2 separate regions of the Homo sapiens genome follow, and region 1 is linked to region 2. Evidence: promoter capture Hi-C in 16 types of primary human blood cells and fetal thymus (Javierre and others, 2016). All regions are on one chromosome and are shown on one strand. The core of a region is centred on a gene start or on the middle of the fragment in contact, and the rest is flanking DNA. Distances in the headings are between cores, read along the strand shown.

Region 1 (4,940 bases), core at 1,105-3,604, 3.2 Mb before region 2:
TAGAGATGGGATGTGTTTGAGAGATAAAAGTAGATTAGGCTTGATGAGGGAAATAAGACAGAAGGAGAACTCAGAATCACAGCTTTCTGAGCGGAGCTTCTGGACATGTGGTGAGGCCATTAACGGATATAGGGAACAGTATGGATTAAAGATGTAGGATGCTGGGCAAGGGCAAGAGAAGTTCAGTATTGGCCATGGTGAGTTGGCATCTGTGGAACTTCAGGTAGAGATATTTCCTGAATAGACCAAGGAAACTGACACAGAAAACTTAAGCATATAAGACAACATAGGTCAGTAATGTCTACCCTTAGAACAATTCCCCATCTTCTTTTAAATTTCTCCATATATTTCAGTTCACAACCACACATAAACCTCTTCAATGATTACTGATTATTTACATAGTTAGAAATTCTACTATGTATACTTGGAAAAAAATAAAATATTTCTAACAGCAGCTTGTTTGTTAATAGGGTAAACATGTCAACAATTATTGTCACAAAAGTGGTCTGAAAGAACCTCTTTGGTAAAAGTAATAGTGTAATACTTTCCTGTTATGTACTTAGGAATGACTGGCATTTTCCCTAAGGATAAAATATTCAGCTGTTGATAGCTAGACCATGTTAGTGTTGACCTCAGATTGGGGTTTACCAATGCAGAGGCTCAGGCCAATCAGTAACTTATACAGTGGAACCCATAGACCAGTAGCAATGATGGCTGATAACATGTCTTGAGAATTTGGTAATTCCACTGCCCAGTGGACGTGGGGCAGCAAACTGGGCACCAAACCACAGATGGATTGCAGTACACTGAAGGAATTCATTATAGTTTTGTGAAATTGGAGGCTGGCTTGACAAAGATGAAGCCTGCTGGGATTAAAAACTTGTGTGTTCTTGGCAAGAGCATGTTGCTGCAGAATTTCACCAGCCATAGTGGGGAAAAAAGAGGGGTGAGGGGGCGTGGGGAAAATGGGAGACCACAAAATTCCTGATATGATACATAAAATGTTAAATATCTATCAGCTTTGCATCCTTTGAGAGTCACCAGATTGAAGCACAGTATTTTGGATTTGGCTGGCAGATGGTGTACACAGACTTTCTGAGAATGTTAGCATTTCATTTGAAACTAGCAAGATTACATGTGACTATCATGGTAACTTAGCACTCACATATTTTTCAACTTATCCCTAACCCTGGGTTGAATGTAGAGGCTCTAATAACATATAAAAGGCTTTGTTAATGTATGGTCTGGGTCTCATTGAATAGTATTTCAGGATGTAATACTTCTTTTAAAATGTCCACAGGGCAGTGTCAACGTCTTTCCATGGAAATCTGGCTCACCCAATAAGAGAAAAGAGGCCAAAGGTAAGAAAGACTAAACCAGGGGAGATGGCAGGCAGTGATGTCTGGACTGTTTGAATGGGACTTCTCCATTTACCGCCCCTCTCACTTCCTTCTATGGTCTGGACCTTTAATCACCACAGCAGTCAGCCATGTAGGGTCAAGCTAATCGCTGTTGACATCATCCTACTACTTCCCTTTTCAAATTCCAGTGAAGCTATGTGTTTCCTGTCCTATTCCACACCCTAGAGAATGAATACCGGCCAGCTAGTATCTAAATTTAGAATGGCAGCAACGTGTCGGGTTTTCGGAGTAGAGATAAACAAAACCAGGTGACATTTCCAAGCCTCTCAAGGAAAGGGGGGAAAAAACCTTTCTGGGGTAAGTAAATAAGGAGAGCTTCAATAGTTCCATGGTAGAGAGAGGCCTGCTGGAAGGTTCAGAAAATAGGCCGTTTGGAACCTTCTCCTTTAAGCCAGGAGGGCGGCTTTGGGAGGCGTCTTGAAATACATTCTTGACTCTGCTGGGAAAGCTCGGGGAGCCAGAGGCCTAATACCCCCCACTTCAGGGGAAGCTGTGAAGGCAGCTGCACCTCCTTTGTCAAGCTGTTGGTTTCAACCACAGACACGAGGACACACTTGAGGTGGGGGGATAAGGGGAGAAGCCTGCCGCCCCGCCCCACCCCCGCCAGCACACCGCCCTCGCCATTCCTCTCCCGCCCCGCCCCGCCCGGCGTCTGTGACCCCGCGGGCCGAGCCTCAGGCGACCTGTTGGCAGGGAGAGTCACGTGATGCGCCGGCTGTGCACTCCCCTCGGGCGGGCCTCCTGTTGCGCCCGCCTGGCGAGTTCCATCACGTAACGCGCGGGCGCCGCCCAGCTCTTCCCTCGCTGAGCGAGGGAGGGCGGGCGTCGAAGAGGAAAGGGAAGGGGAAAGGGGCGGGAGAAGGGAGGAGGGGCGGTGTCCGAGTCACGTGACCCGGGGCAGCCCGGAAAGCTCCGAGGAGGAGCCTGGCGCCGCCATTTTCCTGCAGCTGCCTGTTCCTCTTACCCTGCCCGGCTCCAGCTGACCCGGGAAGGGGTGGGCTGAACTGAGGCGGGGGCAAGGGAGTGCCCGACATCTTGTCCGACTCCGCGGGTGACACGAGCCGGTTCTCTCTGGACTGGTGGCAGCGCGCGGCCCCGAACCGCGCCCCAGGCCGGCAGGCGGGGAAGGAGCCGGTGGGGGTAGGGGGTGCGGTGGGGGGTGGGGACCCTCCGGCTCTTGGGGGTCCCAGTCCCCGCCGGCTGCTGAGCGGGTGGGGTGGTGGAGGAGCTGCAGAGATGTCCGGCCAGAGCCTGACGGACCGAATCACTGCCGCCCAGCACAGTGTCACCGGCTCTGCCGTATCCAAGACAGTATGCAAGGCCACGACCCACGAGATCATGGGGCCCAAGAAAAAGCACCTGGACTGTGAGTGAAGCCGACCGCGGCCCCCGCTCCCCGGCGCCCGCGCGACCCGCGCGCGTCCTTCTCTCTCTCTCTTGTCTTTCACCCTTCTACTGCCTCTTCCCTCCCTGCGTCTTCTCTGGCACGGCCGGTCCTGTGCCCGTTGAGCTGTGTTCTTTTGCTTCCATCACACCTGCCTTCACGGCCTCCGCTCCCCGTCTCAAAATCTGACAAGCCACTCCCCTCCCTATTCCTAGGGGACCCTCGTCTCCCTGCCCGGTGCGCTACCACACCCCATCATACCCAACCAACTTGCTTCCCCACCTGGCTTCTCACCCCCTACCCGTCTCCACTGCAGCCTTCTGCTCTTCCTTCCCACCCGTCCGGTGCCGCCTCGTCGCCCTCGTCTGAGCGTCTCCAAGCCCCATTGTTTCTTCATCAGCCTCCTTCGGGTTTCAGTAAACGCCTGGTTCCTTGCATCCAGATCCTTGTTATCCCTCCGGGCTGCCTCCCTGGAAGGGATCCCCCACTTCCTTTGCTCCACTAGCTGCTTCGCCCATCCCTTCCTGGCTTTCTGTTCCACCTTCCCTCCTGCTTTTGGGTTACCTTTTCATCGCCTCTATAGTAGCTTCAGTGTAGTTTCTTCGACTCATTTTAAATACCATACCCAGTTACCCGACTTTTATTTCAGATTACCTTCTTTGTGGGAGTGAAAGTAAAAGGATTCAATTTGGTGTAGGGAAAGCTTTCTGGAAAGTTGGGATTTTTATTTGCCTCTGGTGGAATTTAATCGTTGTGTTGTCCATACTTTTGACTGGGGTGAGTTTGTGACTGTCAGCTCTGCCCCCCAGCTTTTCACATGGGGATATGGAAAAAGGCATTTTGCTGATACTCTTATCAGTTCCTGGAACTGTTAATTCTGGCGGCTTGAATTCAGAAGCTTGAGTGTTAAGCGTAGACTGTTGGAATTCCAAATGGATTAATAAATTTACTTACAAATAACATACATCCCTTAAAAAAATTGGCAAAATGATGTTTGATGATGCTTGAGTTTGGATGTTTTAATTATGCCAGTTACCTTTTGAGGAACTAGCTTTAGCTTCTCTTACACGACATAGTATTCGTCCATTCGCTAACGTAGATACAATTAGTAGAGCTAACTCCTCGTAACTTTTTTCTAACCTGGAAGTCACCTGTAATACCCTCCTTTTTCTTTGCGCTCTTTTACCCCAGGGTACAAAGCTCATTGGATCACTCAAGCCAATGGAGCTTAGACCTGAAACTTTTCAGGGAAAAATAGGGCAATAGTCACGATAAGTAAGTTCCCTTTTTAAATGACTGGACACATTAGTCTGACTGACTTTCATCATACATGAAAGTTACTTTGTTTTACTGTTTGAAGCAAGAGTGAGCATGCCCTGAAAGATAATTCACTGTCTGGAAGCCTGTTTTGATTTCTCATTTGGACTTTGGCCGTAAAGTTTGCACTTTAAAAAAAATGTACGAAATGTAGATTCTTCCAAGTTACTGTGCTCATGAATGCTGTTAGAACAAGTTTTTGCTACACAGAAGCCTATTATTCTTTGTGATTGTTCCTCCACTGTGGAAAAAAGTTTTAAATAAAAAAGCATTAGTGCTTGATTCTTTCAGATATGCATGCAGGCTGCTTTTAAACTCTCAGTCCTTGCTTGTCTTAGAGAATGGAGAATATGTTTAAATGGTGACACTCTTATGAACAGAAAACTTTTTAAAATGCATCGTAAAGCCATATGTGATTTTTTGATTATCTGATACGTGTAGTAGACGTTTCTGCTATTTACGGCTCTTCAAATACTACTTGGTTTGCCCTACCAAATCTTACAGTTTGTCCTGACACTGTGTTAATTCTTTTGTTAGTTGCTTTTGGTTTTTTTTTGTTTTTTTTTTTTGTATGGGAGTATGAAGAAACTAGTTGTGACTGTGTGAACTATTTTCCTCTTTCCTCATTCAAAATAAGAATCGATAAGGCTTTTAAAAGTTTTTTTTGTAAAGGTTTGTGTCTTATTTCAAATGTAGCAGTGGTTCTTTTAAAGCATTGTCAAAAAGAGGAGAAAATAGGTAGGGTTAGAAGAGTGCTATTTGCATGTTGTTTCATAAATGTTATTAGCTATTTCTCTTGTTATAGCCACTACTGCAGA
Region 2 (5,345 bases), core at 1-2,500:
CCAATCAGAAGAAGGCGCCGCAGAGGGTGGAGCTTAGCGAGGAAATCCTACAAGCATCTGGAAACGACCATTTTCGTCAAACTGCGGGTAGAGTCTTTCTCCCCGACAGGTGGATCAGTAGTACAGTCCGTAAAATTGGTTTTGGAGCTTCGCTGAGCCTCCTGGGCGTAGGGTTCCCGGGAAAGTGTGGAGTGAGCCGCAGCGCCCTGGGGTCTGGCGGGGTGACTGAAAGAGGGAATGGAAGCTGGATGAAGAGGGTTGAGGGAGCTTTGGAAGCCAGACCCGGCGCTGTCCTAGGGGCTAGCACTACCCACGGGCGGAGGGAGGAAGGGGGCGGTGGCAGGAGGCAGGAGGGGGGTGGAGCGCGGAGTGGGTTTTCGGGTGCCGGAGAAGAAAGGGGGCGTTATTTGAAAGAAGGGACCGGGACCTGGCGGGATTTAGGGGCGATGTGGACCCGGGGCGACCTGTGTAATGGATGGGTTGTGCGAGCAACACAGTTTTGGGGTGACCCAAGAACGGAGTATCATAGGGAGTGGTTAGGCTCCAGATGGAGGTGGGTGCAAGGAGCACAGTCTTTGGACCTGGACCCAGCGGTCTGCGACGACGTGCTCCGCTCACTGCTGAGTGATCTAGTGCAAGTTCCCGCACCTCTCTGAGCCTCAGTTTCCACATCTGTAGATGGGAATAACAATCATATACGACGCACAAGATTGCTGTGACGATTTAGTTAGAGGAGATGATGCGTGTGCCTCCCTGCCTCGTGATACACTGGCCTGTAGTGAACCTTCAATAAATTGTCATGGTAGCTGTTATTGCCGTTACGTAGGATTTGCGGAAGGCAGGAGGTGTCGCAATGGAATTGCGGTGGCCAGGGCAGGGTTTGGTGGTGATGATAATGGTAGGGATATTGGGTGACCTGAAGGACAGGTGGGCTTCGGGGGCGCTATAGATAAAGCATGGGCTACAGCGATGAGTTAGGAAGAGGCCCTAGCATGATAAGGGCAGACTTGGGGTGTGACCGCAATGAAGGTGAGTGCTAAGGAGCAGATGGCACGAGAGGAAAGTGGAGTGGAGGCGGTGTCCTCGGGGATGGGGGCGGAGTGGCTGTGGTGACCTGGCTTGGGCGGCGTCTCTGAGGAGCTGGCTGGCTTTGGGTTTCCCCTGGGAGGAGCTGTTTTGCGGCGGGCGGAGCTGCAGGCTGGGCAGGGCTTAGCCTGTGCGCTTCTGCTGGCCTCCTTTTCGCCCTCCCACCCGCACTGCAGTCTCCAGCCTGAGCCATGGGCCGCCGAGCCCTCCTGCTCCTGCTTCTGTCTTTTCTGGCGCCCTGGGCCACCATAGCCCTCCGGCCGGCCTTAAGGGCCCTCGGCAGCCTACACTTGCCAACCAACCCCACATCCCTCCCGGCTGTAGCCAAGAACTATTCGGTTCTCTACTTCCAACAGAAGGTAAGGGGGAGCGGGGGCTTCGCCGTCCCAGGCCCAACCGCCGGGAACCCTGACCCTCAGAGCCCGGGCAACGGAGCCTACCTCGAAATTCACACCCCTTGATGCCTAGGATCTGTTCGGTTTTTGGCTAACATCTTCCAGAAGGTGGTCCCAAATCCCAGTTCTGTTTAAATTTTCTCCTCCCATTACCAATAATTTGGTAGTAGTTTTGGCTGCATACTCTTGATTCAGGCTTTTCTGTAATTGGACACGACAGTCACTTCAACTCCCTCTGCTCCCAGAGGGTGCCCCAATCCGAACTCCCTTGACCTTCCCTCAAATTCAAATTATTAAATGCCAGCTCTGGTACCTAGTCTGCGGTGATAGTCATCCTTTGCCCCAAGGCAGCCCTAAATACAAATTTTAATATCTTTACCTATTAGAAAATATTGGATAGTTATCCATCCTAAAAGCCAGCCTCTCAGAAGGGGTCAGCTCAGAGCTGATTTTGTAGCCCTATTATTAAGAATTGTTGACAGTCCCTATTCCCCATAAGACTGAATGTATGTAGCCTATGCTTGTAAAAGGAGTTGTAGGAGTTTGTGGTGGGGGTGGGGATTAGCCTTTCTATGGTCTGTAACGTGAAATTAGAGGTTTTTGGGCTTGATGCCTTTGTGCTTGGCTGCAGCATGAGGCATTCCCCCACAGGTCTTGATGGAAAAGTACATCCTCTGTGAAATGACAAGTAATCCTTACAGTTCAGCATTTCTGAAAGCCTGTGTAAAAATAGGAAAAGATTTGGAAAAGGTTGGGATTAGAAAGAGTGCAAGGGTCTGAAGCTTGGCTTTAGGAGTCAGATAGAACCGGATTCCACCCTGCTAGCTCTGTGACCTTGGGCAGGTTACAGTACTTCTGTGAGCCTAGTTCCTTGATCTCTTGGGGTTTGTGGTGATGGTTGAATGAGAGCAGATAACGTACTCTTAGCAGAGTATCTGGCTTCAAGTAGGCACTCATATAATATGTGGTTATAGACCTATGTGAAATTTTGTTGTTGTTAATTGTGCAGAGACAAGGCTCACTATGTTGCCCAGGCTAGTCTTGAACTTGTGGGCTCAATAATCCTTCTGCATCAGCCTCCCAAAGTGTTGGGATTACAGGTGTGAGCCACTGAGCCCAGCCCTTATGTGAATTTGGAATGGGAATTTGTGGTAGAGGGATGTCATAGACTTCCAGAATAACTTAGAAATAATTTAAAAATTTTTTTATTTTTAAAAATAGAGATGGGATTTTGTCATCTTGCCTAGGCTGGTCTTGAACTCCTGGGCTCAAGCGATGCCCCTGTCTTGGCCTCCCAAAGGGCTGGGATTGCAGGCGTGTGCCACTGTGTCCCCAGCCAAGAAACAATTTTTAACCCAGACATTTGAGTTCAAGTTTATGAGGAAGAGAAAACATTTTAATTTTAGCAGGGGTACTAGGAAATAATCTTTTTTCTCAGGCAACTCCCTTAAATTAATTCTCTAGGGCATAATTCCCTCATTTGTAAATTAGGAGGGTTGGGACAAGGACCAATGTGTTTTACACTTTACTGAGGAAAATTAAGGGCTCTTTGGGGAGCTGTTTCAGAGGGAAAGTGGATGAAGGCTGAAGTGGAGGCCAAATTAGGTGCTCTAGTACCCTCTCTTGGATCTCTTTCAGCTTTTACCTGTTTTATATGCTGGGATTTTATATACAACTATTTGCAGAACTCAACTGCTAAAGTAAAACGGTGGGGAGGACTATTGGATTGGGAGATCTCTAAAATCCCATTGGGATTGATGAAAAAGAGAACTATCAGCAGAAAAGAGGAAGGGAACAAATGAGTTGTTAGTACCTTAGTTCCTAATTTATGTTCCTTTATTGTAGATTCTTTTCTTGGCCACTACACTCCTTAGAAATATAATTCAACACTGTTTCTTTTTCCATTTTTGATGATATGCAAAGTCCAGCTTTACTCAGCCACATTTTGTCCACTGGCTTATATTTAATTTATATTTTAGGATACAGATTCCACGTATGTATTTATTACCATAATAATAATTTTTCTTCTGTCTATTCCAATTGAGTTTTATTTCATTTTCTGAGGAAAACTTTTACATATGTATTTATTGCATAATTATAATTATACTAGTTGCCAATTTCTGAACCATTGATTTTTAGTTAGGACTATGTGTGAACTCAACTTTAAGTTTTTAAGTTAGAGCACATGAAATACTTTGATGCCTTCTAGTAATAAACTTATTATTAAAACTGTAAGGCTTAGTTTTTTATTCAAGGTTTAATTTTTATTAAACTTTATAATGATTTACCTGTGGTTATATCTGCCCCAGTGACCAAGCTGGACCCAGCTGTCCTTCTATGTATATAAAGGATGTGGTTTTATGGAGTGGTCTCTAAGAAGGCTTAGCCCATGGTCTTATCCCTCCCCTGCTTAGAAATTCTTCATAACTCTGATTGCAGGATAAAGGCCAAACACCTTGGCATGGGAATCCATTGTTCCTTACTATGTAACCCTAGCTGGTCGTTCCAACTTTATATTCTGCCATAATTCCCCATCCCAGCTCCCACTTTTAGCAACCTAACAGACTCAAGTGACTTTTACTGTGTCAGAAATTCTGTCTGGAATACCATCCCTCTTCCCCACTATTTAAACTCATAATTCTATTCCAGCAGAAATGTCTCACCTCTTCTGCGAATCTTTGACTTCTTTAAGGAAATTTAGTTGGTCTTTTTTCATCCTGCACATTTACTATATTGTATGTGTCCCTCCAGCTCGTTAGTACTCTACAATACCTAGAAGAGCCTATAAAAAAGTATAAAGCACAAAATAAATAGTTGTTGAAAGAGTGAATGCATGATTATTCAAAAAGAACCTAAACAAAGCAAAGGCTACCATCATTTAATTGTCACAAATCATTTTTTATTTTTCTTTTTATCTTTTACTTTAATTCTTTACTAATTATTTTTTCCTCCTTTTTCAAGGTCTTCAAATATTGAGTTAGGTAGGACTATTTGATTTCTTTTACCTGAAATAACTGAATTAGGAGACCAGAGAGAGGATAGTACATCACTTGGGCACATCGAGGCTCTGGGTACATGTGTAGTATGTGTGGTATCAGTGTCATAAAGGGCTCTCTGGAATATGTGGCTTGTGGTTACAATGTTGCATGCTTATTACCTTGTACCTCCCACCTGAGCCCCTCAGGCTAGAATGTGAGTCCCAAATCACACATTTTAGTGTGTGATGTAGTGAAGAGGGAGAATGGGTCCTGTCAGGCCATCATTTTTCTCAGTGGTAAAATTGGGAGCAATATCTATTGTATTAGGGTGTGTGTCTGTGTGTTTCTCTCTCTATGAGAGAGATTTTTATTAAGGAATTGGCTCATGCAATTGTGGAGGCTTAGTAAGTCCAAAATCTTCAGGGTAGGTTGGAGGCTGGAAACCCAGGGAAGAGTTGCAGTTTGGATGCCCAGGCATTCTGCTGGCAGAATTTCTTCTTGCTTAGGGGAAGTCAGTCTTTTTTTTTTTTTTTTTTTTTTTTGAGTTGGAGTCTCGCTCTGTTGCCCAGGCTGGGGTGCAGTGGTGAGATCTCGGCTCACTGCAACATCTGCCTCCTGGGTTCAAGTGATTCCCCTGCCTTAGCCTCCCGAGTAGCTAGGATTACAGGTGCCCGCCACCACGCCTGGCTAATTTTTGCAGTTTTTAAAATACAGACAGGGTTTTACCATGTTGGCCAGGCTGGTCTTGAATTCCTGACCTCAAGTGATCCACCCACCTTGGCCTCCCAAAGTGAGGGGAAGTCAAACTTTGTTCTATTAAGGCCTTAAACTGATTAGATAAGGCCCACCCAAATTATGGAGGGTAAAGTCCACTGATTTAAAGTCC

The links. The method cuts DNA at HindIII sites, captures the fragments that hold promoters and counts their contacts. A CHiCAGO score of 5 or more calls a contact.
Region 1: the fragment with the promoter of PICALM here is called in contact with the fragment with the promoter of PRCP in region 2 in 1 of 17 cell types (non-activated CD4 T cells); the score reaches 7.2 in non-activated CD4 T cells.

What each region holds. Positions count from the first base shown.
Region 1 is chr11:86,066,498-86,071,437 of GRCh38, reverse strand. PICALM (phosphatidylinositol binding clathrin assembly protein) reads left to right here and starts at 2,354. Exons shown (of 20, transcript NM_007166.4): 1 at 2,354-2,787. The coding sequence starts at 2,658. It overlaps LOC124902731 (a long non-coding RNA gene), which reads right to left and starts at 1,514. Exons shown (of 2, transcript XR_007062823.1): 1 at 1-1,514. RefSeq lists silencers at 1,840-2,109, 2,260-2,429, 2,570-2,619, 2,690-2,739 and enhancers at 1,365-2,564, 2,304-3,005, 3,006-3,708. The HindIII fragment of the contact is 7,123 bases long and covers 1-3,510 here.
Region 2 is chr11:82,896,335-82,901,679 of GRCh38, reverse strand. PRCP (prolylcarboxypeptidase) reads left to right here and starts at 1,250. Exons shown (of 9, transcript NM_005040.4): 1 at 1,250-1,445. The coding sequence starts at 1,278. LOC124902602 reads left to right here. Exons shown (of 2, transcript XM_047427953.1): 2 at 1-766. The coding sequence ends at 656. RefSeq lists silencers at 315-404, 455-504 and enhancers at 715-764, 1,045-1,144, 1,295-1,354, 1,475-1,524. The HindIII fragment of the contact is 4,585 bases long and covers 1-2,265 here.